Regions from separate parts of the Homo sapiens genome. Here all the other regions are linked to region 5. The links are contacts of gene promoters, found by promoter capture Hi-C in blood cells and fetal thymus (Javierre and others, 2016). All regions are on one chromosome and are shown on one strand. The core of a region is centred on a gene start or on the middle of the fragment in contact, and the rest is flanking DNA. Distances in the headings are between cores, read along the strand shown. Region 1 holds the start of TRIM47 (tripartite motif containing 47). Region 2 overlaps QRICH2 (glutamine rich 2). Region 3 overlaps MRPL38 (mitochondrial ribosomal protein L38). Region 4 overlaps PRPSAP1 (phosphoribosyl pyrophosphate synthetase associated protein 1). Region 5 holds the start of EXOC7 (exocyst complex component 7). Region 6 overlaps PRPSAP1 (phosphoribosyl pyrophosphate synthetase associated protein 1). Region 7 overlaps PRPSAP1 (phosphoribosyl pyrophosphate synthetase associated protein 1).

What was found. The method cuts DNA at HindIII sites, captures the fragments that hold promoters and counts their contacts. A CHiCAGO score of 5 or more calls a contact.
Region 1: a contact is called between the fragment with the promoter of TRIM47 here and the fragment with the promoter of EXOC7 in region 5, in 14 of 17 cell types (non-activated CD4 T cells, erythroblasts, naive CD8 T cells and 11 more). The highest score is 11.5, in non-activated CD4 T cells.
Region 2: a fragment that was not itself captured here is called in contact with the fragment with the promoter of EXOC7 in region 5 in 17 of 17 cell types (activated CD4 T cells, naive CD8 T cells, naive CD4 T cells and 14 more); the score reaches 22.2 in activated CD4 T cells.
Region 3: a contact is called between a fragment that was not itself captured here and the fragment with the promoter of EXOC7 in region 5, in 3 of 17 cell types (endothelial precursors, erythroblasts and M1 macrophages). The highest score is 6.4, in endothelial precursors.
Region 4: a contact is called between a fragment that was not itself captured here and the fragment with the promoter of EXOC7 in region 5, in 7 of 17 cell types (M1 macrophages, M2 macrophages, M0 macrophages and 4 more). The highest score is 8.5, in M1 macrophages.
Region 6: a contact is called between a fragment that was not itself captured here and the fragment with the promoter of EXOC7 in region 5, in 13 of 17 cell types (M1 macrophages, M2 macrophages, M0 macrophages and 10 more). The highest score is 13.2, in M1 macrophages.
Region 7: a contact is called between a fragment that was not itself captured here and the fragment with the promoter of EXOC7 in region 5, in 2 of 17 cell types (activated CD4 T cells and M2 macrophages). The highest score is 6.0, in activated CD4 T cells.

What each region holds. Positions count from the first base shown.
Region 1 is chr17:75,877,331-75,881,267 of GRCh38, reverse strand. It overlaps TRIM47 (tripartite motif containing 47), which reads left to right and starts at 2,687. Exons shown (of 6, transcript NM_033452.3): 1 at 2,687-3,394. The coding sequence starts at 2,720. It also overlaps a transcript of TRIM65 not described here. RefSeq lists silencers at 2,503-2,852, 2,983-3,362, 3,373-3,552 and enhancers at 2,397-3,312, 3,313-3,937. The HindIII fragment of the contact is 18,500 bases long and covers 1-3,937 here.
Region 2 is chr17:76,291,521-76,295,620 of GRCh38, reverse strand. QRICH2 (glutamine rich 2) reads left to right here. Exons shown (of 19, transcript NM_001388453.1): 4 at 1,600-4,100. Among named protein-coding and RNA genes, the nearest start is that of QRICH2, 15 kb to the left of the region's middle. The HindIII fragment of the contact is 473 bases long and covers 1,465-1,937 here.
Region 3 is chr17:75,899,026-75,903,101 of GRCh38, reverse strand. MRPL38 (mitochondrial ribosomal protein L38) reads left to right here. Exons shown (of 9, transcript NM_032478.4): 3 at 948-1,082; 4 at 1,182-1,390; 5 at 1,829-1,901; 6 at 2,075-2,120; 7 at 3,428-3,586; 8 at 3,808-3,944. Among named protein-coding and RNA genes, the nearest start is that of MRPL38, 3.8 kb to the left of the region's middle. The HindIII fragment of the contact is 3,542 bases long and covers 476-4,017 here.
Region 4 is chr17:76,310,738-76,314,447 of GRCh38, reverse strand. It overlaps PRPSAP1 (phosphoribosyl pyrophosphate synthetase associated protein 1), which reads left to right. Exons shown (of 10, transcript NM_002766.3): 8 at 557-627; 9 at 1,432-1,578; 10 at 2,748-3,710. The coding sequence ends at 2,906. It also overlaps a transcript of QRICH2 not described here. Among named protein-coding and RNA genes, the nearest start is that of QRICH2, 4.3 kb to the right of the region's middle. The HindIII fragment of the contact is 2,725 bases long and covers 1-2,679 here.
Region 5 is chr17:76,101,666-76,105,527 of GRCh38, reverse strand. EXOC7 (exocyst complex component 7) reads left to right here and starts at 1,741. Exons shown (of 19, transcript NM_001013839.4): 1 at 1,741-1,895; 2 at 2,102-2,167; 3 at 3,665-3,849. The coding sequence starts at 1,836. The HindIII fragment of the contact is 3,319 bases long and covers 970-3,862 here.
Region 6 is chr17:76,327,586-76,331,548 of GRCh38, reverse strand. It overlaps PRPSAP1 (phosphoribosyl pyrophosphate synthetase associated protein 1), which reads left to right. Exons shown (of 10, transcript NM_002766.3): 5 at 883-998; 6 at 1,451-1,506; 7 at 2,687-2,832. Among named protein-coding and RNA genes, the nearest start is that of QRICH2, 21 kb to the right of the region's middle. The HindIII fragment of the contact is 3,381 bases long and covers 426-3,806 here.
Region 7 is chr17:76,345,161-76,349,174 of GRCh38, reverse strand. It overlaps PRPSAP1 (phosphoribosyl pyrophosphate synthetase associated protein 1), which reads left to right. Exons shown (of 10, transcript NM_002766.3): 2 at 594-646. It also overlaps the pseudogene HMGN2P43. Among named protein-coding and RNA genes, the nearest start is that of PRPSAP1, 6.7 kb to the left of the region's middle. The HindIII fragment of the contact is 8,373 bases long and covers 1-4,014 here.

The sequences.
Region 1 (3,937 bases), core at 1,438-3,937, 230 kb after region 5:
TTTTCTTTTCTTTTTTTTTTTTTTTTTTTTTTGAGATGGAGTCTCGCTGTGTCACCGAGGCTGGAGAGTACAGTGGCACAACCTCTGCCTCCTTGGTTCAAGCGATTCTCCTGCCTCAGACTCCCGAGTAGCTGGGAATACAAGTGTGTGCACCACCACGCCCGGCTAATTTTTTTGTATTTTTAGTAGAGATGGGGTTTCGCCATGTTAACCAGGCTGGTCTGGAACTCGTGACCTCAAGTGATCCGCCCGCCTCAGCCTCCCAAAGTCCTGGGATTCCAGGCGTGAGCCACCACACCCGGCACATTTGTGCTCTTTTGCTTGTGTTTTCTCCTCTTTAGCTCTGAACTCATGAAGTGCCTTCTGAACATTTCTAGTCTGGTCTCAGGGGACCTGAGGGTATTTTCCCACCCCCCAAGCCTAGAGAGCTGGGGAAACAGAGGCAGGAATGCAGACCCGGTGGGAGAGGTGGACAAGGGTTTGGGTGTGGGACAAGCAGCAGTGTGTGCTGAGGTTTAGGGAAGGGCCAGGGTCCTGGAACACAGAGAGGGCCAGGAACACCGGGGGACATGCATGACCTCTAGCACATTTGGGCCTGGGCCTCTCTCCAACATTTCCTTACTTATGCACTGTTATAGGTTGAATCCTGTTCCCTGAAAAAGACGTATTCGGATCCTAACCCCCAGGACCTGTGGCTGTGACCTTATTTGGAAATAGAGTATTTTCAGATGTGACTGAGTTAAGATGAGGGCATACTGGAGTAGAGCGTGCCCTAATCCAACAACTGGTGTCCTGATAAGAGGAAATGGGCACCGGGCACAGTGGCTCACGCCTGTAATCCTAGCACTTTGGGAGGCTGAGGCAGGCAGATTACTCGAGCCCAGCAGTTTGAGTGGGCAACAGAGCAAGACTCCCTAAAAAAAAAAAAAAAAAGGACATTTGAACACAGACACAGAGAAAAGGCAAATGACAACAGAGACTGATATTAGAGCGCATCTTACAGCTACAAGCCAAGGAACGCCAAGAATTGCCAGCCAGTACCAGAAGCTGGGACAGACGCCCAGGACAGAGTCTCCCTCAGATCCTGCAGAAGGAAGCCACGCTGCAGCACCTTACTGAAACACAGCATTTCTTTCTATTCCAAATGGAGAGAATACACCAGAGTGGTATGAGCAGTTACCTGTGACTTTGTCACTAACCAAAATTACAGATATCTCTGGGTGCGGTGGCTCATGTCTGTAATCCCAGCACTTTGGGAGGCCGAGGCGGGTGGATCACCTGAAGTCAGCAGTTCGAGACCAGCTTGGCCAACATGGTGAAACCCCGTCTCTACTAAAAATACAAAAATTAGCCAAATGTGGTGGCGGGCGCCTGTAATCCCAGCTACTCAAGAGTCCGAGGAGGGAGAATCGCTTGAACCCAGGAGACAGAGGTTGCAGTGAGCTGAGATTGCGCCACTGCACTCCAGCCTGGGCGACAAGAGCGAAACTCCATCTAAAAAAATAAAAATAAAAAAACATTATTTGGAATTTTCAATGCGAAATATGTCTGTTCTCCCCAGCTTGTTAATTTATTATTTATTTATATCGGCATGGACTCATAGATGTTTATTTTACACTTTGGGTTATAATCAGTGCTACTTTACTTATTTTGTTGTCATTCTGGTGTAGTGTTTTAACTTAACATTATTGAGATATAACTCATACAATAAAACGCACCACTTTAAGTGCATAATTAGATGAGCTTTAAATACTTCCAGTTGGGGAACCCCCAACCCCACCACAGGTGTCCCCAGTGTCCAGGGGCCAGAACTACATTCCTCAGACAAGGGACTTAGGGAATGACGTCAACTTCCCATTTCAGGTCTAGAAAAGTCCAAGTTCCCTACTTGGGGTAAAGAGTCGCTAAAGGAGCTGGGCGCTGTGGCTCACGCCTGTAATCCCAGCACTTTGGGAGGCCGAGGCAGGTGGATCACCTGAGGTCACGAGTTCAAGACCAGCCTGGACAAGGTGAAACTCCGTCTCTACAAAAAAATACAAAAATTTGCCTGGTGTGGTGGCAAGCGCCTATAATTCCAGCTACTTGGGAGGCTAAGGCAGGAGAATCACTTGAATCCGGGAGGCGGAGGTTGCAGTGAGCCGAGATAGCGCCCCTGCACTCCAGCCTGGGCGACAAGAGAGGAACTCTGTCTCAAAAAAAAAAAAAAAAAGAGTCGCTAAGGGGCAAAAACATATGTACATCAGCAGTTATTTTTCTCTGCAGTCAGCAGCTCAGGAACTTTGCTAAGGGTGCCAGGGAGGGGTCGAGCGCAAAGGTGCAGGCATGACACAGCTAGACGCGCCCAGCCCCTGCGGAGCGCTGGCCTGGCCCAGAAGGACCAGAGGGATGGAGGCTGAGTCCTTCCCATTCCTTCCACTGTACCTCTCGCGTTCTCCGCCCGCGCTCACTCAGTTTCACACCCTTTCAGCAGCGCCCTTCCTTAGGACCACGCGGACTCCCCTGGGGGTCGCGCGGGCTCGGAGGCCTCCCTGCGTTGTCTGGGCGGGGACTGGGAGTCCGCGGGCCCGCAGGCGGGCGGTGCTGCGGGGCGGGCCGAGCTGGGGGCGGGCGGGGGCCGGAGCCCTGGCCTAGGTCCCAGGGGGAGGTGCCGCGGCGCGAACGGCCCGGGTCCCTCCCAGGCCGGAGCACAATCGGCGGCGCCCTGGGCGGCCGCGGAGTCATGGACGGCAGTGGACCCTTCAGCTGCCCCATCTGCCTAGAGCCACTCCGGGAGCCGGTGACGCTGCCCTGCGGCCACAACTTCTGTCTCGCCTGCCTGGGCGCGCTCTGGCCGCATCGTGGCGCGAGTGGAGCCGGCGGACCCGGAGGCGCGGCCCGCTGCCCGCTGTGCCAGGAGCCCTTCCCCGACGGCCTTCAGCTCCGCAAGAACCACACGCTGTCCGAGCTGCTGCAGCTCCGCCAGGGCTCGGGCCCCGGGTCCGGCCCCGGCCCGGCCCCTGCCCTGGCCCCGGAGCCCTCGGCACCCAGCGCGCTGCCCAGTGTCCCGGAGCCGTCGGCCCCCTGCGCTCCCGAGCCGTGGCCCGCGGGCGAAGAGCCAGTGCGCTGCGACGCGTGCCCCGAGGGCGCGGCCCTGCCCGCCGCGCTGTCCTGCCTCTCCTGCCTCGCCTCCTTTTGCCCCGCGCACCTGGGCCCGCACGAGCGCAGCCCCGCCCTCCGCGGACACCGCCTGGTGCCGCCGCTGCGCCGGCTAGAGGAGAGCCTGTGCCCGCGCCACCTACGGCCGCTCGAGCGCTACTGCCGCGCGGAGCGCGTGTGTCTGTGCGAGGCCTGCGCCGCACAGGAGCACCGCGGCCACGAGCTGGTGCCGCTGGAGCAGGAGCGCGCGCTTCAGGAGGTGGGCTCCGGGGGCACACTCGGGTGAGCCGGGGCTGGTGACCGACCGCGCGCGAGCGGGCCGAGGACCTTGGACCCCCCAGTCTTCCCGGGTTGGGTCTTAATCTCCTCCTCTAACCTGAGGATCTTTGCGGTCCCTTCCAGCCTTGACAAGGTCATCTGCTGGCGGTGATGGAGATGGGAAGGGAGGAAGGAGGGACGTGAGAACAGGACAAGGACGCGAAGAGCGGGCAGGGGACCTGAAGCCGGGCCGGGGTCTATGGGGGTGTAGGCGGGAGGGAGCCGGGTTAGGCCCGCGGGGTTCCGGTAGCGTGGCTGCTGCTCCCGCCCGGAGGGTCACGCCGGTCTCAGCTCAGATTTGCCCTGGGCTGAGGCAGCAGCTTTCGATGGGTGTGGCAGGCGGCAGGAGGGCGGCAGAGGGCGACCGGGCACACAGATTCTCTGTCCAGCTGTTCCGGGGGCCAGTGGTGGGAGCATGTGAGCCGCGGCCTCTACCTCCCGCCCCCAGTTTCCTTTGGCCTCCAGCCCGGTCTTGGCGCCTCTG
Region 2 (4,100 bases), core at 452-2,951, 190 kb before region 5:
CACAGGCTGGAGTGCAGTGGCGTGATCTCGGCTCACTGCATCCTCTGCCTTTTGGGTTCAAGTGATTCTCCTGAGTAGCTGGGATTACAGGTGTGCAGTACCACACCTGGCTAATATTTTATATTTTTAGTAGAGACCAGGTTTCACCATGTTGGCCAAGCTGGTCTTGAACTCCTGACCTCAAATGATCCACCTGCCTTGGTCTCCCAAAATGCTGGGATGACAGGCGTGAGCCACTGTGCCCAGCCTATACATTTTAAATATATGGTTTACATGCATTCCAGTATACACTTTTATCAGCAGCAATGGGTCAACAATGGAGCAAACTTTATATTTTATTTTATTTTATTTATTTATTTTTTGAGATGGAGTCTTGCTCTGTCACCCAGGCTGAAGTGCAGTGGTGCGATCTCAGCTCACTGTAACCTCTGCCTCCTGGGTTCAGGCGATTCTCATGACTTGTCCTCCCAAGTAGCTGGGACGACAGGCACGTGCCACCACACCCAGCTAATTTTATTTATTTATTTATTTATTTATTTATTTATTTGTTTTTAGTAGAGACGGGGTTTCATCATGTTGGCCAGGATGGTCTCAATCTCTTGACCTTGTGATCTGCCCACCTCGGCCTCCCAAAGTGCTGGGATTACAGGCATGAGCCACCGTGCCAGACCCAGACTTTATATTTTAAACTTAATAAATTACTTATGTCCTTTATTTAAAGGCTAAGCAAAAGTCCAGAGAGATCACTTGTATTTTGCAGTTTTCCCCATCTTTTATGAAGAAAAATTACACTTTTTTTTTTTTTTTTGAGAAGGAGTCTCACTCTGTCACCCAGGCTGGAGTGCAATGGTGCAATCTCGGCTCACTGCAACCTCCACCTCCCGGGTTCAAGCGATTCTCCTGCCTCAGTCTCCTGAGTAGCTGGGATTACAGGCATGCACTATCACACCCAGCTAATTTTTGTATTTTCAGTAGAGATGGGGTTTTGCCATGTTGGCCAGGCAGGTCTCAAAGTCCTGACCTCAAATGATCCACCCGCCTTGGCCTCCCAAAGTGCTGGGACTATAAGCATAAGCCACCGCACCTGGCCACAAAAATTACATATTTTTGTACATGCCATTTTCAAATATGCAGAGTCTCAAAAATATGGAGACCTAGCCTCCCAGAACGTCAGTGTGTTTCTTTTCCTTTTCTTTTTTTTGAGATGGAGTTTCACTCTTGTCACCCAGGCTGGAGCACAATGGCACAATCTCACGGCAACCTCCATCTCCCAGGTTCAAGCAATTCTCCTGCCTCAGCTTCCTGAGTAGCTGAGATTACAGACACATGCCACCACGCCTGGCTAATTTTGTATTTTTAGTAGAGATAGGGTTTCACCATATTGGTCAGGCTGGTCTCGAACTCCTGATCTCAAGTAATCCACCCGCCTCGGCCTCCCATCAGTGTGTTTCTTTATGTCAAGCTTAGCTTTTAGGACCAGAGGGCTTTTTTCTCCAGGGGCCCTAAATCATCCTAGTCAGAACTTCCAGATTTCCTTTCTTCCCACTCTGATAGTGAATATTTTGACTGTTATTGATTTCCTTCTTCCTCTCCAACCAGGGCTCAGAAACACTTATGGGATTTTCTAAGCACGGAGGGTTCACTTCCTTAACATCACCTGAAGGGACTCTAAGCGGAGACTCTACCAAGCAACCAAGTATTGAGCAGGCTCTGGATTCTGCCAGTGGTCTTGGCCCGGATCGGACTGCATCAGGATCTGGTGGCACAGCACACCCCTCTGATGGGGTTTCCAGTAGGGAACAAAGCAAGGTCCCCTCTGGTACTGGGAGACAGCAGCAGCCGAGGGCCCGTGATGAAGCTGGCGTGCCACGACTCCATCAGTCTTCTACATTCCAATTCAAATCAGACTCAGATCGTCACAGGAGTAGAGAGAAGCTTACCTCGACACAACCAAGAAGAAATGCACGTCCTGGTCCAGTTCAACAGGACTTACCCTTGGCCAGAGACCAGCCCAGTAGTGTGCCCGCTAGCCAGAGTCAGGTCCATCTAAGGCCAGATCGTCGTGGGTTAGAACCAACTGGCATGAATCAGCCTGGATTAGTGCCTGCTAGCACTTACCCACATGGTGTGGTACCCCTCAGCATGGGTCAGCTTGGTGTGCCACCACCTGAAATGGATGATCGGGAATTGATACCATTTGTCGTGGATGAGCAACGTATGTTGCCACCATCAGTACCTGGCAGAGACCAGCAAGGATTGGAACTACCTAGCACAGACCAACATGGTCTGGTTTCAGTCAGTGCATATCAGCATGGTATGACATTTCCTGGCACAGACCAACGCAGTATGGAACCACTTGGCATGGATCAGCGTGGATGTGTAATATCAGGCATGGGTCAGCAAGGACTAGTACCCCCTGGTATAGACCAGCAAGGATTGACATTGCCTGTCGTCGATCAACATGGCCTGGTTCTACCTTTTACAGACCAGCATGGTTTGGTATCACCTGGTTTGATGCCAATTAGTGCAGATCAGCAAGGTTTTGTGCAGCCCAGTTTGGAAGCAACTGGCTTCATACAACCTGGCACAGAGCAGCATGATTTGATCCAGTCTGGCAGATTTCAGCGTGCTTTGGTGCAGCGTGGTGCATATCAGCCTGGCTTGGTCCAACCTGGTGCAGATCAGCGTGGTTTGGTCCGGCCTGGAATGGATCAGTCTGGTTTGGCCCAACCTGGTGCAGATCAGCGTGGTTTGGTCTGGCCTGGAATGGATCAGTCTGGTTTGGCCCAACCTGGTAGAGATCAGCATGGTTTGATCCAGCCTGGCACAGGTCAGCATGATTTGGTCCAATCTGGCACAGGTCAGGGTGTCTTGGTACAGCCTGGTGTAGATCAGCCTGGCATGGTCCAACCTGGCAGATTTCAGCGTGCTTTGGTGCAGCCTGGTGCATATCAGCCTGGCTTGGTCCAACCTGGTGCAGATCAGATTGATGTGGTGCAACCTGGTGCAGATCAGCATGGTTTGGTACAATCTGGTGCAGATCAGAGTGATTTGGCTCAACCTGGTGCAGTTCAGCATGGTTTGGTCCAACCTGGAGTAGATCAGCGTGGTTTGGCACAACCTCGTGCAGATCATCAGCGTGGTTTGGTCCCACCTGGTGCAGATCAGCGTGGTTTGGTCCAACCTGGTGCAGATCAGCATGGTTTGGTCCAACCTGGAGTGGATCAGCATGGTTTGGCACAACCTGGTGAAGTTCAGCGTAGTTTGGTGCAACCTGGTATAGTTCAGCGTGGTTTGGTGCAACCTGGTGCAGTTCAGCGTGGTTTGGTGCAACCTGGTGCAGTTCAGCGTGGTTTGGTCCAACCTGGAGTGGATCAGCGTGGTTTGGTTCAACCTGGTGCAGTTCAGCGTGGTTTGGTCCAACCTGGTGCAGTTCAGCATGGTTTGGTCCAACCTGGTGCAGATCAGCGTGGTTTGGTCCAACCTGGAGTGGATCAGCGTGGTTTGGTGCAACCTGGAGTGGATCAGCGTGGTTTGGTCCAACCTGGAATGGACCAGCGTGGTTTGATCCAACCTGGTGCAGATCAGCCTGGTTTGGTCCAGCCTGGTGCAGGTCAGCTGGGTATGGTGCAGCCTGGAATAGGTCAGCAAGGTATGGTGCAACCTCAGGCAGATCCACATGGCCTGGTACAACCTGGTGCCTATCCTCTTGGTTTGGTACAACCTGGTGCATATTTGCATGATTTATCTCAATCTGGGACATATCCACGTGGTCTGGTGCAGCCAGGAATGGATCAGTATGGTTTGAGACAACCTGGTGCATATCAGCCAGGCTTGATAGCACCAGGCACAAAGCTTCGTGGCTCTTCAACATTCCAGGCAGATTCTACAGGTTTTATATCAGTACGTCCATATCAACATGGTATGGTACCTCCTGGCAGAGAACAATACGGCCAGGTGTCACCACTCCTAGCCAGTCAAGGTTTGGCATCACCTGGTATAGATCGAAGGAGTTTGGTACCACCAGAAACTTATCAGCAAGGTTTGATGCATCCTGGCACAGACCAGCACAGCCCAATACCACTGAGTACAGGTTTGGG
Region 3 (4,076 bases), core at 997-3,496, 200 kb after region 5:
AGCATCAGTCATTCACTCTACCTAGGACAGCTGGGTGTTCATAGCCACCTGTGAACAGGCTTGGAGGTGATCTCAACTATAATTGGAAGGACCATTGACTTCAGTTTCCCATGACCTAGACAAAACTGTGACCTGGTTTGGGGATCAGAAAAACACAGCCTCCAGCCTAGCCAACATGGTGAAACCCCGTCTCTACTAAAAATACAAAAAAAATTAGTCGGGCATGGTGGCAGGCGCCTGTAATCCCAGCTACTCAGAAGGCTGAGACAGGAGAATTGCTTGAACCCGGGAGGCAGAGGTTGCAGTGTGCCGAGATCGCGCCACTGCACTCCAGCCTGGGCGAGAGAGTGAGATTCTGTCTCAAAGAAAAACACAACCTCAAGTTGTATCTGATTTGCTTCCCAGTTACATCCTATTCAGGTCTGGGAAGTAGACTGCACAGTATGTTTTAATTCTGTGAATCACAGGGAAAGCTTGAGCAGCAGAGCTTGAAGCACAGAATGAGAGGACTAGGTAGGGACAGGCAGTTTAACCAAGAAGATGTGCCCGCCCCCTCACTGGGTGCAGTGGCTTGCGCCTATAATCCCAGCTACTTAGGAGGCTGAGGCAGGAGGATCACTTGAGACCAGGAGTTTTGAGACCAGCCTGAGCAACATAATGAGATCCCATCTCTCAGATTTTTTAAATTAGCTACCATGGCTGGGCGCAGTGGCTCACACTACTGTAATCCCAACACTGTGGGAGGCTGAGGCAGGCAGATCACTTGAGCCCAAGAGTTCATACCAGCCTGGGCAATGTGGCAAAACCCTGTCTCTACAAAAAATACAAAAATTAGCCAGATGAGATGGTGTACACTTGTAGCCCCAGCTACTCAGGAGACTGAGTTGGGGAGGTTAAGGCTGCAGTGAGTCATGACCCTGTTTTTCCCACACATCTTCCCACTCCAGATCCCAAAGAGAAGATTGATATTGGGCTGCCTCCACCCAAAGTCTCCCGGACCCAACAGCTACTGGAACGGAAACAGGCCATCCAGGAGCTTCGGGCCAATGTGGAAGAGGAGCGGGCTGCCCGCCTCCGCACAGGTAAGCCTTCTCAGGGGAGGGGCCATCCCAGAGTTGGGGTACAGGGTGTGTCCCTGCCCCCCCCACCCCCGTATCCCAACTGGCCTTATTCCTGTCTAGCCAGTGTCCCGCTGGATGCCGTGCGGGCCGAGTGGGAGAGGACCTGTGGCCCCTACCACAAGCAGCGTCTGGCTGAGTATTACGGCCTCTACCGAGACCTGTTCCACGGTGCCACCTTTGTGCCCCGAGTCCCCCTGCACGTGGCCTACGCTGTGGGTGAGGATGACCTGATGCCTGTGTACTGTGGCAATGAGGTGACTCCAACCGAGGTAACCACTCACTTGTGCCCCTCCTCCCTGCCCTGTGCAAACACAGACACATCCCATCTCAGTGTCACAGACACTCCTGGGTTTGGAATTTTGTTGTTCTCTGTCTCTTTGATTTCCTGGAAGACGACACCATGACAATTTCAAAGAAAATAGAACAAAATGAAGGAAAAAGAGGCTCTGTCTTAGCACATTCCTGTGACCAGCCTGCTGTCTGTGGTGTGCCCTCCTGGCCCGGCCTTGGCACATGTTCGTTTTTGTGGTTGTTGCCTGGACAGGCAACTCTGCAGGGCTGCTTCTCTACGCATCCCTTTGCCTGCCTGCCTGTGCCAGGGGTTGTCAAGGGCTTTTGGGTCAGAGTGGGCACCCCTTTCTCCAAGGCTCCCTGCAACAGCTGGCCTGTCCCTGGTGGGGCTGACAGCTTCCTTCTCACCCTGCCAGGCTGCCCAAGCGCCAGAGGTGACCTATGAGGCAGAAGAGGGCTCCTTGTGGACGTTGCTACTCACTAGCTTGGGTGGGTGTCTGGGGCTCACCAGGCCTCCTGCCCCGCTCACCTCCTATGAGCCAGGGCCCTGGGGGGCTGGGGGAGGGGCCAGGTGGAGATCTCCAGCGCTGGCTCCTAACAAGGGAGGGGGTGGCAGGGCCGTGGTCGGCTGGGCCGTGGTCAGCAGGTGTGTTTTTGTGCAGATGGGCACCTGCTGGAGCCAGATGCTGAGTACCTCCACTGGCTGCTGTGAGTACTGGAGTACTGGGGGTAGGGGGTGCTGCCCAGGCGGGAAGAGGAGCTGGGAGCCTGGACTGAGCTGCTCCTGAGTTTCATGGACTACCCATGGGACCTTGAATTCACCTGCCACCTCTGCCTCCTGAGGGTGTTAGGGGCCCTGGGATCCACGTGTCTACTTGAAGACAGCTACAGGAGACAAAGTTTGCAGTAGGCCTCGGTCAGTCCCCACAAGCCTCCTCATCTTTTCTTTTCTTTTTTTTTTTTTTTTTTGAGACAGGGTCTCACTCTGTCCCCCAGGCTGGAGTACAGTGGTGCAATCATGGCTAATTGCAGCCGCTAACTCCTGGGCTCAGGTGCTCTTCCCACCTCAGTCTCCTGAGTAGCTGGGACTACAGGTGCAAACCACTACACCCAGCTAATTTTTGTATTTTTTTATAGAGACAGGGTTTCACCATGTTGCCCAGGCTGGTCTCCTGAGCTCAAGCGATCTGCCCGCCTCCGCCTCCCAAAGTGCTAGGATTATAAGCGTGAGCCACCATGCCTGGGCCCTTCGTCTCTAAACTCATTTCTTCACCTGTAAAACTGGGATAATGGCACCACATGCCTTACTCAGCGTGAGGTGGACTGTGACAGTCACGTGGGAGAAGGAGCGGGAGAGGCCTAGCAGCTGTGGCGTCCCCCAGGTGCTCCTTGAACCACTGGGCGCTCCTTCCCTGGGCCCAGACTGGGCGGCCTTCCATCTTGGTAGCTTTTGGCTCTGAACACCAGGCCAGGGGGCAGAGGTCAGGCCAGTGACCCCAACTTTGAGCCTTCTGGTTAACTGGGGACAGTGACTGGGAGGCTGGTTTCCGTCATTTTTATTCAACTGTTACCAGCCTATGCGGCAGGACCCTCTGGGGATTTGTGCCTGAGGCGTTGGCCGCCCCTGTGCCAGGCTGGGCACACACTCCCTGACGAGGTCCTGGAGACTTCAGGACGCAGAGGGAAAAGCAGCCAAAAGTGGCCTGGCTTTCTAGCCTCAGTGACTGTGGCGGACCCACCGGCTCCCGGGGCCTGGAAGCGGCTGCATGGCCTTGCTGTCAAGCTGATGCTCTCTGGAGCCCTGTCCCCCACTCGGAGCTCCTCCAGCCCGCTTCCCGTATTTGCAGCATGTCCCGGCGTTCACAGAGCTTGGCTGCCTCCTCTGTCCCAGGAGAGAGATGCTTAGAGCTGTCCTCCCAGGGAGTCATGTCAGCCTCTAGGGTGTGCATGGAGCTGAGGGGACACTCCTGCTGCCTCCCTGGAGTGGTAATTAACCGGGACTTTCCTCCTCCCAGAACCAACATCCCGGGTAACCGGGTGGCTGAAGGACAGGTGACGTGTCCCTACCTCCCCCCCTTCCCTGCCCGAGGCTCCGGCATCCACCGTCTTGCCTTCCTGCTCTTCAAGCAGGACCAGCCGATTGACTTCTCTGAGGACGCACGCCCCTCACCCTGGTAATCTACACCACCCACACATAACCCGGCCTCAGGCCAGCTCCCCTGGAACGGTCACTCTTGCTCAGTTCTCTCTTGACCTCAGCCTTGAGACTGGCAGAAGAGCAGGATAGGGTGCTAGCAGACTCCCAGGGGCCTCTCAGGGTTACCTGTTGGGGTGGCGGGGTGAGGGGCTCTGGTGCCCCACTCCACACTCTCATACGCTCTCTATCTTCTCATAGCTATCAGCTGGCCCAGCGGACCTTCCGCACTTTTGATTTCTACAAGAAACACCAAGAAACCATGACTCCAGCCGGCTTGTCCTTCTTCCAGTGCCGCTGGGATGACTCCGTCACCTACATCTTCCACCAGCTTCTGGGTAAGGGCCATGGGGCTGGGGCACTGGGTGGGCCTGAGCTCCCAGGCCTCGCCTGCCCTGCCAGGGAGAAGCTTTGTTAGGGGAAGGCTGCGGCAGGTCCCTGGTGGGCAGGCCTCAGCCTGAGGGGGCGCA
Region 4 (3,710 bases), core at 68-2,567, 210 kb before region 5:
GTCAGGAGTTCGAGACCAGCCTGACCAACGTGGAGAAACCCCATCTCTACTAAAAATACAAAACTCAGCTGGGTGTGGTGGCGCATGCCTATAATCCCAGCTACTCGGGAGGCTGAGGCAGAATTGCTTGAACCTGGGAGGCGGAGGTTGCAGTGAGCCAAGATCGCGTCATTGCACTCCAGCCTGGGCAACAAGAGCAAAACTCCGTCTCAAAAAATACATACATACATACATACATACATACATTTTTATATCAGTTACATGTTGAAATTATAATATTTTGGGAATTGCATAAAATAAAATGTATTAATTTCATCTGTTTTTAATGTGGCTACTAGAAAATTCAAAGTAACATGTATGGCATGCCTTCTATTTCTTTTGGCCAATGCTGCTGTTTCTGAGAGATTGCAGGTTCATTGAGGGGGAATTTGCATGGTTTGTTTGTTTTTTGTCTGTATAGTGGTTTTGCCACCATTTCCAGGGAATTAGGTTGTGATTACATTTCTCTAGTGATACATGAATGACTGAGATCTTGTAATTTGTTTTGTTTTGCTAGTGATGATGGCCAAAGAGAAGCCACCGATAACTGTAGTTGGAGATGTTGGAGGCCGCATCGCAATCATCGTGGTATGGTTATATGTCATCCATGTGCAGAGGTGGCACTCCTGGCTCTTGGTCAGTAGGTTGTCCACTCTGGGACTGTATTTCTAGGAACGATGATCCGAATGGATCCATGTATCCTTTCTCACCCAAACTCCCTTGTGCCAAGTGGCAGAAACCTGTATCCAGGTGAACATACATTAAAGTATAACCTACAGATAGGAAATGAGCACAGTACTCCCGTGAGAAAATTCAGCACCTTCACCTTCATCATGTGGATTCTAGGTTCTTTAAACCAGCTCACCTAATCATGCTTGAGCGTTAGGGCCGAAAGATGAACTGAAGATGAGCTGTTCCGTTTTCACAAGTAAGAATGGGTGTCCCCGTGCAGACTCGTTCTGCATGTTGACATACTTTTTTTCCCAGCTCTAAATATCTGCTGGCTAGTGGGTCATGAGTCCTTTGCAGTAGCACACTTTATTTCAGTTTTCTTCTCATGTCACAGTCTATTTGAAAAAAAAATAAATGGAACGCTGGCTATGTGGGATTCACCAGAAACGTGAGACAGGAAAATGAGTGTTGGCAATCCTCAGCTCCAGCCGTAATGTCACAGGTGCTTGACTGCGCCCGCCTCTGACAGACACACAAGGTACTGTCAGGTGCTTCTGTTGCCATTTCTGGATGCTCGTTCTTTGACCCAGGCACACAGCTCTGATTTTCCATCAGAAATCCTCTGAAACTGAGTGCAGAAGAGAGTAGAGTGGTGTGTGCATTGACAGTATGGGCTAGAGGGTGTTTCTTTCCTACCAACTCACTCTGTTCTCCTCCCAGGATGACATTATTGACGATGTGGAGAGTTTTGTTGCTGCCGCGGAGATCCTGAAAGAGAGAGGCGCCTATAAGATCTATGTTATGGCCACCCACGGCATCCTGTCTGCAGAGGCCCCTCGCCTGATTGAGGAGTCCTCCGTAGACGAGGTCAGGCTGCTTCTAAATCTTGAGCCAAGATTTACTGCTGTGTTTTCTGGGAATAATAAAATGATTCAGTCAATACTAAATTGCTTAATCTGTCTATAGCTTTTCTAGCTTTTGCTGGCTAGCAGTTCGTTGGGACAGATACATGTTTAGGAATACAGATAGTCCACGACTTACCATGGTTCAACTTAGAAGTTTTTGACTTTATGATGATGCAAAACCATTGCAATTACGATGTAATGTATAGTATTCGATAAATTACTTGAGACACTTTATTTTAAAATAATCGCTTTTATTATAAAATGAAAGCCTTTGCCCTAGATGATTTTGCCACCTGCAGTCTAATGTAACTGTTCTGGGCATGTTTAAGGTAGGGCTAGGCCAAGTTAATGATGTTTAGTAGGTTAGGCGTATTAAATGCTTTTTTTTTTTTTTGAGATGGAATCTTGCTCTGTTGCCTAGGCTGGGAGTGCAGTGTGGCAATCTCGGCTCACTGCAACCTCTGCCTCCCGGGTTCAAACGATTCTCCTGTCTCAGTCTCCCAAGTAACTGGGATTACACGCGCCGGCCACCAGGCCTAATTTTTGTGTTTTTCTTAGAAACGGGGTTTCACCATGTTGGCCAGGCTGGTCTCAAACTCCTGACCTCAGGTGATCCACCTGCCTCGGCCTCCCAAAGTGCTAGGATTACAAGCATGAGCCACTGTGCCCGGCCTAAATGCATTTTCTACTTAAAATATTTTCAACTTATAATGATGCGTTTATCCAGACATAACCCTGTCATAAGTTGAGAGTTATGTTGAGGGTCTGTATATGTCTATTTGCATAACGGTTTGCTTGGGTACTTTAATTTGACACCCTAGGAGCATTTCTCTTGAGGCTGGAATTCTTCCCTTATGATCTGAGAGTTTTGCATAGCACTGGGGCTCACTGTGTTTCTGCATGGAGACCATGCCATTCCTAAGATTTTTGTCTTGTGTTCTGAGGCCATGTAACTTTTCCTTTGCATAAAATTAGTTAATTTTGGTTTATAAAAACTATACTCGGTGGAACAAGGTTTTGTAGTTTGGAACTTAGGCTGTGGGAACTCAATGTTAGATAAGCTTTTCTGTGTAACCAGCTTGGAGAACAGACTTCAGTAACAGCGTTTGTTTTCCATCACTGTGTGACTAGGTGGTGGTGACGAATACTGTCCCTCATGAGGTTCAGAAGCTGCAATGTCCCAAGATAAAGACTGTGGATATCAGTTTGATTCTTTCTGAAGCCATTCGGAGAATCCACAATGGAGAGTCCATGGCCTACCTTTTCCGAAACATCACTGTGGATGACTAGCTTTCACGAGGGTCTCGACCCTGGACCTCCTGAGGGAAACATGGAAAAAGCAGTGCCATGAGTGATACAGTGTTTCCTTGCAAGGGAGGACTCGAAACAGCCTGGAGTTAGATATCTTCTTTTGCCCGGATTGATGGGGAGGAGGGATTAAAAGAGTCAGGAAGAAGACAGAGCTAATGGATAAATATCATAACATGGCCTTACATGTCTGCTGTCATCAGCCCTGTTCCTTAAAAGTTCTAGCTGCTTTCTTAAAAATAATCTGAAAATCTTATTGATACTAAAGAGGAGTTAAAGGCACATAAAGTCTTAACTCTATAATGTTCATTTAGTTGTTTCAGCTCCAGGGAAATGGAGGTATTGATGTTGAACCTGGTTAGGGAAGCTGAGCGCCTGTGGCCCTATTACTATCCAGTTGGCCTCTCCCAAATCAACTTCAAGTCTTTTATAGAGAATCGTATTTTTCTTTCAGAAATTGTTATGCCTACAGCCATTGAAAAATGAAGCATTCATGTTGTTACATCTTCCAAGGATGTCAGATTAGAAAATAGCATCCCACCTCTGGGTATCTGAGTGGCTCTGAAGTTGCAAATAAAATAATTTGTTGTCTTGCTAGTCTTTTCATTAGACAGCAGAAGACCATGGATACAGAACAGCAGTCAGGTCTGTGGCTGGACACAAACACTTTCCCAGGTTCCACCCTCTTCCTAAGTGTTGAAGCTAAATCCTTGTTGAATACTGTATTTTAAATCTTTAAAAAAAAAAAAAAAAAGTCTAGGTGTGGTGGCTCACACCTATAATCTG
Region 5 (3,862 bases), core at 492-2,991:
CAGCACTTTGGGAGGCCGAGGCGGGCGGATCAACTGAGGTTGGGAGTTCAAGACTAGCCTGACCAACATGGAGAAACCCCATCTCTACTAAAAATACAAAATTAGCCAGGGTGGTGGCCCATGCCTGTAATCCCAGCTACTCGAGAGGCTGAGGCAGGAGAATCGCTTGAACCCGGGAGGCAGAAGTTGCAGTGAGGCGAGATCACGCCATTGCACTCGAGCCTGGGCAACACAGCAAGACTCCGTCTCAAGAAAAAAAAAAGAGAGAGAGAGAGAGACTCAGGTTAAATGCTGGACCAGGCCCTCAAAGGTAGTCCACCTGAGCCCAAAACACCCTCTCTACAGCGGCTAACTAGCCCCGCTACTCTATTCTGTGACATCTAACAGTTTAAACTTTCTCCTACTTAGCCCTTTGGACTACACAAGGACCATGTCAGCGAAATCATCCTGGGTATTTCCTGACACAGGAATCAGCCTTTTATCTCCCCCACCTACAACAGGATTGAAATTGTCCTCTTGCCTGAGGGAAGGCTGCCCATCCCTCTCCAGGCTCTGTGCACCCACTTCCTCCTCCTCCTCCTCTTCGGGTGACTATGGGTGGAGTGAGCGCTTGGGAACCCTAGAGCTTGGGTTCTTCCTTCTCTCCTTCTCTCCTTAGGCCGGGAGCAGGGGCTCACGCCTGTAATCTCAGGACTTTGGAAGGCCAAGGCGGGTGGATCACTTGAGGTCAGGAGTTCGAGACTAGCCTGGGCAACATGGCGAAACCCTGTCTCTACTAATAATACAAAAAAATTAGCCGGGCGTGTTGGCAGCCGCCTGTAATCCCAGCTACTCGGGACGCTGAGGCACGAGAATCACTTGAACCCGGGAGGCAGAGACTGCAATGAGCCAAGATCGTGCCACTTGCACTCCAGCCTGGGCGACAGAGTGAGACTCTCTCTCAAAAGAAAAGAAAGGAAAAAAAAAGCTTGGTGTCCCCCCTGCCCGCCCCAAACCTTCTCATCTACCAGCACATGCCTCCTTGTCTATCTTCCGGGTGTCTGGACACTGAGGCCACAGAAGGACTGAACCAAGCTGGTCGGCCTTGTCCTTTCTCAAGGCTGGGGGCCAGAGGCAGGGTGGGCAGGGACGGGTTAGAGGAAGGAGTAACTCGAGGTTTTGCAGGAGCTGGGTCTGCAACCACAACATCCAGCCCCGCAGGGAAGTTGATCCAGGGGCGCCCCCCACCCCGTCCCCTGGAGCTGCAGTTGGACGCTGGGTCTGGGCCTGGAGCTCCGGAGCAGCCCCGCCAGCCCACAGGATACGTTTTTGCGTAATGCAGGGTGGAAGGCGGAAACAAGTACACAAGCCCCTGGTTCATTACATGGACACACGTTAGGCATCTACTGTGTCACCTGCTCCGTGCGGGGCTTTGTGGGAAACGCAATTGGCCTTGGTGCCTGCCCATAGAATGCGACCTGGGGAAAGGAATTCGTCGCCTTCCCCAGCAGTCTTTATCAAAAGGGTCGGTCTTTCAACGAAAACAGCAAGTGAGCTCTAAGTGTCCTGCCAGCCGCGGGACATAAGGCCGATCGAAAACCTCTGCTGAGGCAAGGAACCCGCGTCGAGGTCCCTTGCAGCATCCGAATACACTTCTCTTCCCAGCCACGCTCAAAATGGCCGTCGGTCCGTTCTTGGGCTCCGCGCAGGCGCACTTCAGCCTGCGATTCCCAACATGGCTCCGCCCAGGCGTCCCGGGGCGGGACCAAGAGCGGAAGTGGGTGTGACGGGGACGGGGGCCCGGTGGGCCCGCGGAGGAAAGATACTGGGGAGTGGGAGCCGCGGGGTTCAGAGCGATGATTCCCCCACAGGAGGCATCCGCTCGACGGCGGGAGATTGAGGACAAGCTGAAGCAGGTGGGCGTGGGCCTGGGGAGGCTGGGGAGGAGGTGAGGGAAAGGGGCCAACAGCGGGGCCTGATTGTCTACTCATGGAGGAGGCAGGGGTGGGAGGGAGCGCACCCAGCGAGGAGATGGGGTTGGGGGCTAGGCCGTGGGGTTGGGACGCAGTGGTCTCCTTTAGCTTCTGGTTTCTGGTGATGTCCTCCCCTTGCCTGCCCCCAGGAGGAGGAGACTCTGTCCTTCATCCGAGACAGCCTGGAGAAGAGCGACCAGCTCACTAAGAACATGGTGAGTCTCCCCGCAGCTGGGGGAGAGGGCAGGCCTCCGGACCCTGGGGGAGAGCCTTGCGACCTGGCGGTTCCGGTTCCTGCGGCCTGGAGTTCTGGAATGGGCAGCGACGGAGGCAGTGTGTGGGTTTATCTAGCAACAGTTTGGCATCTCTCCTGCCTAGCCCCCTCCCCATGTTCCGTACCCTCACTGAGGAGGCTGCACTTCCCACTGGCCTGGACTTGCTGCTTTCTGTCTAAGCTCGCCATTCTTCCTTCTCTCCTTCTGCAAACACTCAGTGAGTCTGACCAGTTGGGCTAGGTACTGGGCATATGTCATTGTCAGTGGACTCTCTGCCCAGGAGGTTGGCACTTTGAGATTCCTGAGGGCAGAGAAGACTCAGCCTTCACTCCAGAGGACTTTAGGGAAAGAAAGAGCTCTAAAGTCAGGCAGATCTGGGATCTAGTCCTTGCCCTTCTGCTTAAATGTGCGGCTCCTGATAGGTAACTGGTGTCAGCGAATTCATCTGCTAAAACAGAGACTGTGCCAGCCTCCCAGTGTGTCTGTGAAGGTCATATGCGCTAATGCATGCGACTGCATCTTGCACAGTGCCTGGTATACAATAGGTGCTCAATAAGTGAGTTTCCTTCTTTATTCCTAGGGGAGACTGGAAAAGCACAAAGTGAGTAAATACAAACTTGTATTTGCATTTAGTCACACAATAATAAAGTCCTAGTCCTTTTCTAAAAATTTTAATTTTTAAATTTTTTTTTTTAGAGGCAGAGTCTGGCTGTGTTGTGCAGGCTAGAGTGCAGTGGCATGACTGTAGCTCACTGCAGTCTCTAACTCCTGGGCTCAGGCAGTCCTCCTGCCTCGGCCTCCTAGCAGCTGGGACTGTAGGCACACACCACCACGCCTTGCTAATTGTGTGTGTGTGTGTGTGTGTGTGTGTGTGTGTGTGTGTCTGTGTGTGTAGACAGGGTCTCACTGTGTTGTCCAGGCTTGTCTTGAACTCCTAGTCTCAAGCTAACCTCCCGCCTCAGCCTCCCAAATTCTGGGTATTACAGGCATGAACCATCACGCCCAGCCTCTAGTCCTTATTCAATGAGTTTCATCCTTAGAGAGGGTTTTGAAGATACAGCAATGCATTTGAGGCTACTCTGTATGAAACTACTTCCAGTCCGGTTTAGGAATGCTTCAGAGAGAACAGAAGTTGAGATTTGGCTTCAAAGGGTGGAAGGGAAGCCATCTTGGGCTGATTATTTTAAGAAGAATTAATTTGATGCTTGGTTTGCCTTCAAATAAAATTTCAACCAATTTGTCTTAGACCACCTACTATATGCCAGGCACATGATAGGTGCTGAAGATACAGTGGGGAACAGGTACACCCTGTTCCTTCGCTTGTGGAGTTTATTGTCTAGAAAACCAGAGAAAAGGCAGGAAATGCCGAAGGTGGGTGTGTAGAAGCAGTGCTGGGACCACTGTGAGTCCCAAGATCAAGAGGCTTCCCTCCCGCAGGTGTCTATCTTATCATCCTTTGAGAGCCGCCTTATGAAGCTGGAGAACTCCATCATCCCTGTGCACAAGCAGACGGAGAATCTGCAGCGGCTGCAGGAGAATGTTGAGAAGACGCTGTCCTGCCTGGACCATGTCATCAGCTACTACCATGTGGCCAGTGACACTGAGAAGATCATCAGAGAGGGGTGAGTGAGTGAG
Region 6 (3,963 bases), core at 867-3,366, 230 kb before region 5:
CTGTAGATTATTTATAAATACCTAATACCATATAAACACTATATAAATTGTTGTTATGCTGTCTTGTTTAGGGAATAATGATGAGAAAAAAGTTTCATACCTGCTCAGTACAGACACAACCATTGTAGGCCTAACTACCTTTTCAGTCTGTGTTTCGTTGAATCCACACGTGGAACCCATAGATCCAGATGGTCAACTGTATGTGAATTTCATCCTCTCCAAAAAACTATAGTGTTTCTGGAAAGAACAAGTAATACTGGTTCTACACCCTGGAAGTTTTGCTGTGACCTTTGACCATTTGCAATGTGTTTATATATATGTACCTTTTCCTCTTCAGTACTCTTGATTATAAGAGTATCTCTTCATTGTTTTTCTATAAGAATACTTGAAACATTCTTTGTTACATACAGAAATTATTCTAAGCTTCAATATCTTTGTGTTATATGAGTTTCTTTTCTTCTAATATGTATATTACTTTGCGTTTGTGTTCTTGCTACTTTTTGCCTTCGCTACAGTTCTTTATCCTTTCTTTTAAGATTCTGTAATCAAGGCCTTACTGTTTTTTCCATCTCTTCGGTATTAATTCCATATTCATATTTTTGCTTCTGCCACATTATTCTTTTCTCAATTTTCTGGACCAAGCCAAAAGTCAATAATTCCCACTTTCTTAGCTTTAGTTCTTTGTCCATGTGGAAGGTTGTAGCCTTCTCTACATTAAGGCTTTATTAAGGTTAACAATCAAGCCTGTGACTGCAGTGCTTAATCACAGTACCCCGTCTTCAGTCTGCTGGTAGGAAGCAGGAGTTGAGCATCTAGTTTAGGTCCACTGTAGCCATTTACCTGTAGGGGTGAACTTTGTAATTTTTTGTTTTAAAATTTCAGGTTTAACTCACATTATCACTATGGATCTTCATCAAAAGGAAATACAAGGCTTTTTCAGCTTTCCTGTGGACAACCTTAGAGCCTCACCTTTCCTGCTTCAGTATATCCAGGAAGAAGTGAGGAACCACCAGCAAACACCCCATTGTCCTCAAAAGAGATCTTATTTAGTTTTTCTCTGGTATCAGATTTCGTTACTGGAAGGCACATCAAATGAGCTCTCCCTTAAGTCACAATGCCTGAGGCAGCAGACAGGGTCAGCTTTAGTCGTGGACGATCATAGCTTTAAAAGACACTAAAAACAGATTTTTTTTCTACGTATCTTTAGCAATTTGCTTATGTTTTCTAAAATGAATGTTTTAAGAATTATTTTTAAAAAATTCTTGACGTAGGAGTGCTTTTTCCAGTGATGTTAATTGATAAATATTGAAAAATCTAAAACTTGTGACTAAAATTCTAGCATATTTGATGACTAGTTTGGATCATTATAAGAGGGAAAACTTGAATACCAGCATCCAGGTGTTATTTTCTGATAACTTTTCAGTATTTTCTATTTTTCCTTCAAATCTAGATTCCAAATTACAGAAATGCAGTCATTGTAGCTAAGTCTCCTGATGCTGCAAAGAGGTAAGTAAGCTAGACATGGGTCCTGATCCCTCCTGAGTGCTCCCGAAGTCAGAATGAGCTGCTTTGGAATCCAGAGGCTGTCACTCGTGGCCTTTGAAAGCCCACTGGCTCTCATGTTAACCCCTCCATCGTTGTCATGTCCCATGCCACACACAGCTTTATCTCCAGCCTCCAGACAGCACACATGATCGCTGAGTTGCTCAGCTTTCCTCTGGGAAAACAAAGTTCCTTCAAGTTCTCAGAGAAAGGAAAGCAATGAGGCTATGAGCATTTTTCAAGCAATGGTTTTTTTTTTTGTTTTTTTTTTGAAATGGAGTTTCATTCTGTCACCTAGGCTGGAGTGCAATGGCGCGATCTCGGCTCACTGCAACCTCCGCCTCCTGGGTTCAAGCAGCTCTCCTGCCTCAGCCTCCCCAGTAGCTGGGATTACAGGCGCCTGTCACCACTCCTGGCTAGTTTTTTGTATTTTTAGTAGAGATGGGGTTTCACCATGTTCATCAGACTAGTCTTGAACTCCTGACCTCAAGTGATCTGTCTGCCTTGGTCTCCCAAAGTGCTGGGTTTACAGGCGTAAGCCACTGTGCCCGGCCCAGGCAATGGTTTTTAACGTTGTTCTTTCTTCTGAAGATGACTATCAGAATATTGGACAAAGGATAGAATCAAAATTATCTAGAATCAGGGCCAGGCGGGGTGGCTCACGCCTGTAATTCCAGCACTTTGGGAGGCCAAAGCGGGAGATCGCTTGAGCCCAGGGGTTCAAGACCAGCCTGGGCAACATAGACCCCGTCTCTACAAAATACAAAAAATAGCCAGTTGTGGCAACACATGCCTGTGGTCCCCGCTACTCGGGAGGTTGAGGTGGGAGGATCACCTGAGCCTCAGGAGGTTGAGGCTGCAGTGAGCCATGTTGACGCCACTGCACTCCAGCCTGGGTGACAGTGAGACCTTGTCTCAAAAAAAAAAAAAAATGTCTAGAATCAGATACAATCCCAAACCCTAACTCACGTGCCCTTTGAGTCATTTACATGCTGGCCTGGGCCTCACATTCTCATTTATATAAATAATGCCTTTGTATGTCCCTGAAACGTTAAATATTTTCATTTTATGGTTAAAAAATGATGCCGTAGTGATGCGTGGGATTTCTTCCTGTCAGTTTCACCATTTCCCTTTGTCCTTCTAGGGCCCAGTCCTATGCGGAGAGACTGCGTCTGGGTTTGGCCGTCATTCACGGGGAAGCTCAGTGCACGGAACTGGACATGGACGATGGTCGTCACTCCCCGCCTATGGTCAAAAATGCTACTGTGCACCCAGGCCTGGAGTTGCCATGTAAGATGAGCTCTGTGTTTTTATTTTATTTGTAAATTGAAGAAAGTTTTTTTTTGTTGGTTTTGTTGGTTTTGTTGTTGTTGTTTTGTTTTGTTTTGTTTTGTTTTTGAGATGGAGTCTCACTCTGTCACCCAGGCTAGAGTGCAGTGGCGTGATCTTGGCTGACTGCAACCTCTGCCTCCTGGGTTCAAGCAATTCTCCTGCCTCAGCCTCGTGAGTGGCAAAGATTACAGGTGTGTGCCACCACGCCCAGCTAATTTTTGTATTTTTAGTAGAGACAGGGTTTCACCATGTTGGCCAGGCTGGTCTCAAACTCCAGACCTCGTGATCTGCTCCAGACCTGGTGATCTGCTCGCCTCAGCCTCCCAGAGTGCTGGGATTACAGGCATGAGCCACTGCACCTGGCCCTGAAGAAAGTTTTAAGTAGTATGAATGGCTAGGAGTTATCGACTATGTAGATATATGCTGTCTTGTTGTTTTTTAATAATGGAATGGTATTTGCTATCCTCCGCCTTTTTTTTTTTTTTTTTGAGAAAGGATCTCCCCCTGTTGCTCTGTACAGTGGCACAGTCATGGCTCACTGCAGCCTTGACCGGGGCGCAAGTGATTCTCCCACCTCCGCCTCCTGGGTAGCTGGGACTGTAGGGGTACACTACCATGCCTGGATAGTTTTCTGTTCCTTTTTTTTTCTTTTTGTATGGAGACGGGGCTCCCTGCATTGCCCAGGCTGGTTTTGAACTTCTTTGCTCAAACAATCCTCCTGTCATGGTCTCCCAAAATGCCGAGATTACATAAGATTACAGACATGAGCCCCATGCCAGGCCCGATTTCCTCTTTTGTAAAAGGAAGTTGTGTTATACACATTTGTAGACTGTGTATGGACGGTTCTGCGTAGCACTCAGCATTCAGACGGTGTTTGATAATTTTAGCTTCAGTAAAAAAGTTGTATGTGTGATGGTGTGAAATCTTAAGCTTTTACATTATCATAAGCTGGGTGACAGCTGTTGATCAAATACCAGGCTTTGGGGATCAGGTAACTTTTATTTTTACTTATTTATTTATTTTGAGATGGAGTCTCACTCTGTCGCCAGGCTGGAGTGCAGTGGTGCAATCTTGGCTCACTGCAACCTC
Region 7 (4,014 bases), core at 189-2,688, 240 kb before region 5:
GCTCCACCATGCCCAGCTGATTTTGTATTTTAGACGGGGTTTCTCCATGTTGGTCAGGCTGGTCTCAAACTCCCGACCTCAGGTGATCCGCCCGCCTTGGCCTCCCAAAGTGCTGGGATTACAGGCATCAGCCACCACGCCTGGCCAAAAATGGCTTTTTACACTTGGTTTATTCTAATTAGGATCCAAACAAGATCCACACCACATTTGGTCAGAGTGCTGAAGCCTCTTTCCTTCTCTATGCTTTTGATAATTGAGGCATTTATCTCTGGTGTGTGTTATTGAAATCATTGCTTGTAACCAAGTATTTGGAAGTGATTTTCCAAGAAAATTACTATTCAAAGAACAACGCGCACCAGACATTAACCATGGGTTGTGAGCTCTGTCTGGTAAAGCAGTATGTTACAACGTGGTGAGCTGCTTATGGAGTGACAGCAGAATTTTAGTTTAATGAATTAGATTTTCTGAATTATTTTTTGGAAAGAATGGCAGCTTAATTATTTGAGTCTTTTTATTAGACATATGCATATGAACTGGAATTTTTTTAAAAAGAGTAATCTTAATTTCCCTTTTTTGTTCTTTTTGATCTATAGGCGCCTTGGTGCTGAATTGGGGAAGTCTGTTGTATATCAAGAGACCAATGGAGGTAAGTTAAAATTATTTCTTTTTTTTAAAATTATTTTTTATTTATTTAGTTTTTTTGAGACAGAGCCTCACTCTGTCGCCCAGGCTGGAGTGCAGTGGCATGATCTTGGCTCACTGCAACCTCTGCCTCCCAGGTTCAAGCAATTCTCCTGCCTCAGCCTGCTGAGTAGCTGGGATTACAGACGCCCGCCACCACACCCGGCTAATTTTTGTATTTTTAGTAGAGATGGGGTTTCACCCTGTTGGCCAGGCTGGTCTCAAACTCCTGACCTCAGGGGACCCTATTGCCTCGGCCTCCCAAAGTGCTAGGATTACAGGCATGACCACTGTGCCCAGCCTTTATTTATTTATTTATTTATTTATTTATTTTTATTAAGATGGGGTCTCACTATGTTGGCCAGGCTGGTCTTGAACTTCTGAGCTCAAGCAGTCTTCCCACCGCAGCTTCCCAAAGTGCTGGGATTACAGGCGTGAGCCACCGCACTCGGCTTCCACCACGTTATTTCTAAAATGCAAATATTTTTTCTTACTACTGCTTCCTTACTCCTACCCTGTAGGCTGGGGTCCAGTCTTTTTAGCAATCACATGGGGCCCTTTGGGAATCCAGATTCTACCCCTTTACCTGCCTCATCTTTGATCCACCCATTACCACATCTTGTGTGCTCTGACTTTGGAATACATCTTATATCTGACCCTTTCTCACAACCTCTGCTGCTCCCACTTAAGTCCAGCCTGCCGTTTGCTGCTTGCTAGACACCTTCCAAAACAGACGCCATGGCCTCCCCGTGGCCACTCCTGCCCTGCCACGGTTTTCTTCACACAGTAGCCAGCAGTCTTTTTAAAACAAGTAGATGAAACCCTTCCCAACCTTAAATCTTCCAGTGGCTTTCCTGTCACTGCTAGAATAAATTCCAGACTCTTCAGCGAGTAAGAAATGAAATCCAGAGTCCTGCAAGTCCTGGCCCCTTGGCTCCCTGACCTCCTGTCTCTCTCTTTCCCCTCACTCTGTCTGCTTTCTTTTTTTTTTTTTTTTTTTTTTTTTTTTGACGGAGTCTTGCTCTGTCACCCAGGCTGGAGTGCAGTGGCATGATCTTGGCTCACTGCAACCTCCACCTCCCAGGTTCAAGCAATCCTCTTGCCTCAGCCTCCCAAGTAGCTGGGATTACAGGCATACGCCACCAAACCCGGCTAATTTTGTATTTTTAGCAGAGACGGGGGTTTTGCCATGTTGGTCAGGCTGGTCTTGAACTCCTGACCTCAGGTGATCCACCCGTCTTGGCCTCCCAAAGTGTTGGGATTACAGGCATGAGCCACCGCGCCCGGCCCACTCTGTCTGCTTTCTAAGTGGACTAACTGCCTGCCCCTCTGCTTGGCACACTCGGATCCCACATCTTCCCATGTTCCCAAACCCCCTTCTGCGCTGCTCGTTCTGGATTGCAGTGAGGCCCTTTTTTCCAGCCCCATTGTTCTTTCTCCTTCGTCATGGCTAGCGTCTCTGGCATATTGGGCCCGGAGGGTTTGCTGGCCTTGTTGTTGTATCATCTCTCCTGGGTCAGTCTTTGTCCCTTCTTCCAAGTCCTGCATTTTGGGGTTCCCAGTACAGTTCCTGACATGGAGGAGGCTTCAGCATTTGTTGAAAAAATAATAAGGATGTCGCCCGGGCTGGAGTGCAGTGGTGCAATCTCAGCTTACTGCAGCCTCTGCCTCCCAGGTTCGAGCAATTCTCCTGCCTCAGCCTCCCAAAGTGCTGGGATTACAGGCGGAGCCACCGCGCCCGGCCAAACTCCCTTTTTCAGTGCACAACCAAAAATCAGAAAGCCACTGTAAAACCCAGTGAACATTTAGCATGTTGTTTAACAACTTTTCACAAGCTGACCCTGACTTTCCGGAAGTGAAATGAATATGGCAGAGTTTATCTGAAGATCCACAGTCTAGAAACGGAACTACTGCTCTTTTGAGGGGCGCCATCTCAGTGGCATCACTGGAAGGTCCAGATTGCCTGCCACACTGGTAATCAATTATGGGGGGGTCAGGTGCCAACAGATGTCTGGCTTTAAGGGATTTAAGTCCATGCTGAAAGGTGGAAAGGGAGAAGAGGACATAGAAACAAATTTGTCTTTTCAGAGCACAAGGCTTTTGTGTGCTGAGGTGGCCATGTGTGTCAAAGTCAGGGAGCCCCTCTTCCTGGGAGCCGAGAGGAAGTCTCTCAAAACTAGAAGGGAAAGGTGCTTTCCCCACATCAATCCAGCTTCGGAGACATTCTATTCATGACATATGCTCCTTTCCCCAGAACAACAATGAAGCGTTCTGTGTGCTAACAACATAGCTTAGAAAACAAAAATTCTGCGTTTTTATAAAACTTGATAAAAAATAGTATTTCAAACTGTACAGTCACCAGAAGTACACAGTTATCCAAAATGCACACGCTTCCCTCAGCATCTCCAGCAGGTGCCTGGTGTGTTCAGGCATCTCCACTTCCCATAGAGTCATTCCCCTCCTCGCCAGTGTCAGCTTTTTCCTTTTTCCCTTGGGTACCTTCTCTCCCTTCTTTGCAGTGGCCTTTTTAGGCCTGGGCTCTGGCTTTGGAGGGAGGAGCAGGTTTAGCAGACAGCCTCACAGATCTTCTCTGTGGTTCGTCTTTCACCTTGGCCTCATCTCCCTTAGCATCCCCTTCAGCCTTTCTCTTGGGCATGGTGGCAACGAAAGCAGCCGGACGTAGGCACTGGGAGCGGGATGCAGTGGCGGTGCACGGACTGCGCTCAGTCGGGGGTCATTCTCGCTTCCTCTTCTTCATACTGCTCCAAGACTTATTCTTTTGCCCCAGATAAAATGTTGGTTTAGATTAATCTTTACTCCCTCCAAATGTTTCTAGCTGTTGCATCATGAGTGCTTTGCTTTTCTGCTTTTTTTTTTTTTTTTTCTCCAGACAAGGTCTCTGTTGTCCAGGCTGAAGTGCAGTGGCACAGTTTCAGCTCACACTGCAGCCATGACCTTCCCTGGCTCAGGTGATCCTCCCACTGGGACTACAGGCACTTGTCACCATGTCCAGCTAATTATTTTTTTGAGATAGAATCTCGCTGTGTCACCCAGACTGGAGTGCAGTGGCGCGATCACGGCTCACTGCAAGCTCTGCCTCCCAGGTTCAAGTGATTCTTCTGCCTCAGCCTCCTGAGTAGCTGGGATTATAGTTGTGCGCCACCATGCCTGGCTAATTTTTGTATTTTTAGTAGAGACAGGGTTTCACCATATTGGCCGGGCTGGTCTCGAAGAACTCTTTTTTTTTTTTTTTTTTAATGAGACGGAATCTTGCTCTGTCACCCAGGCTGGAGTGCAGTGGCGCGATCTCGGCTCACTGCAAGCTCTGCCTCC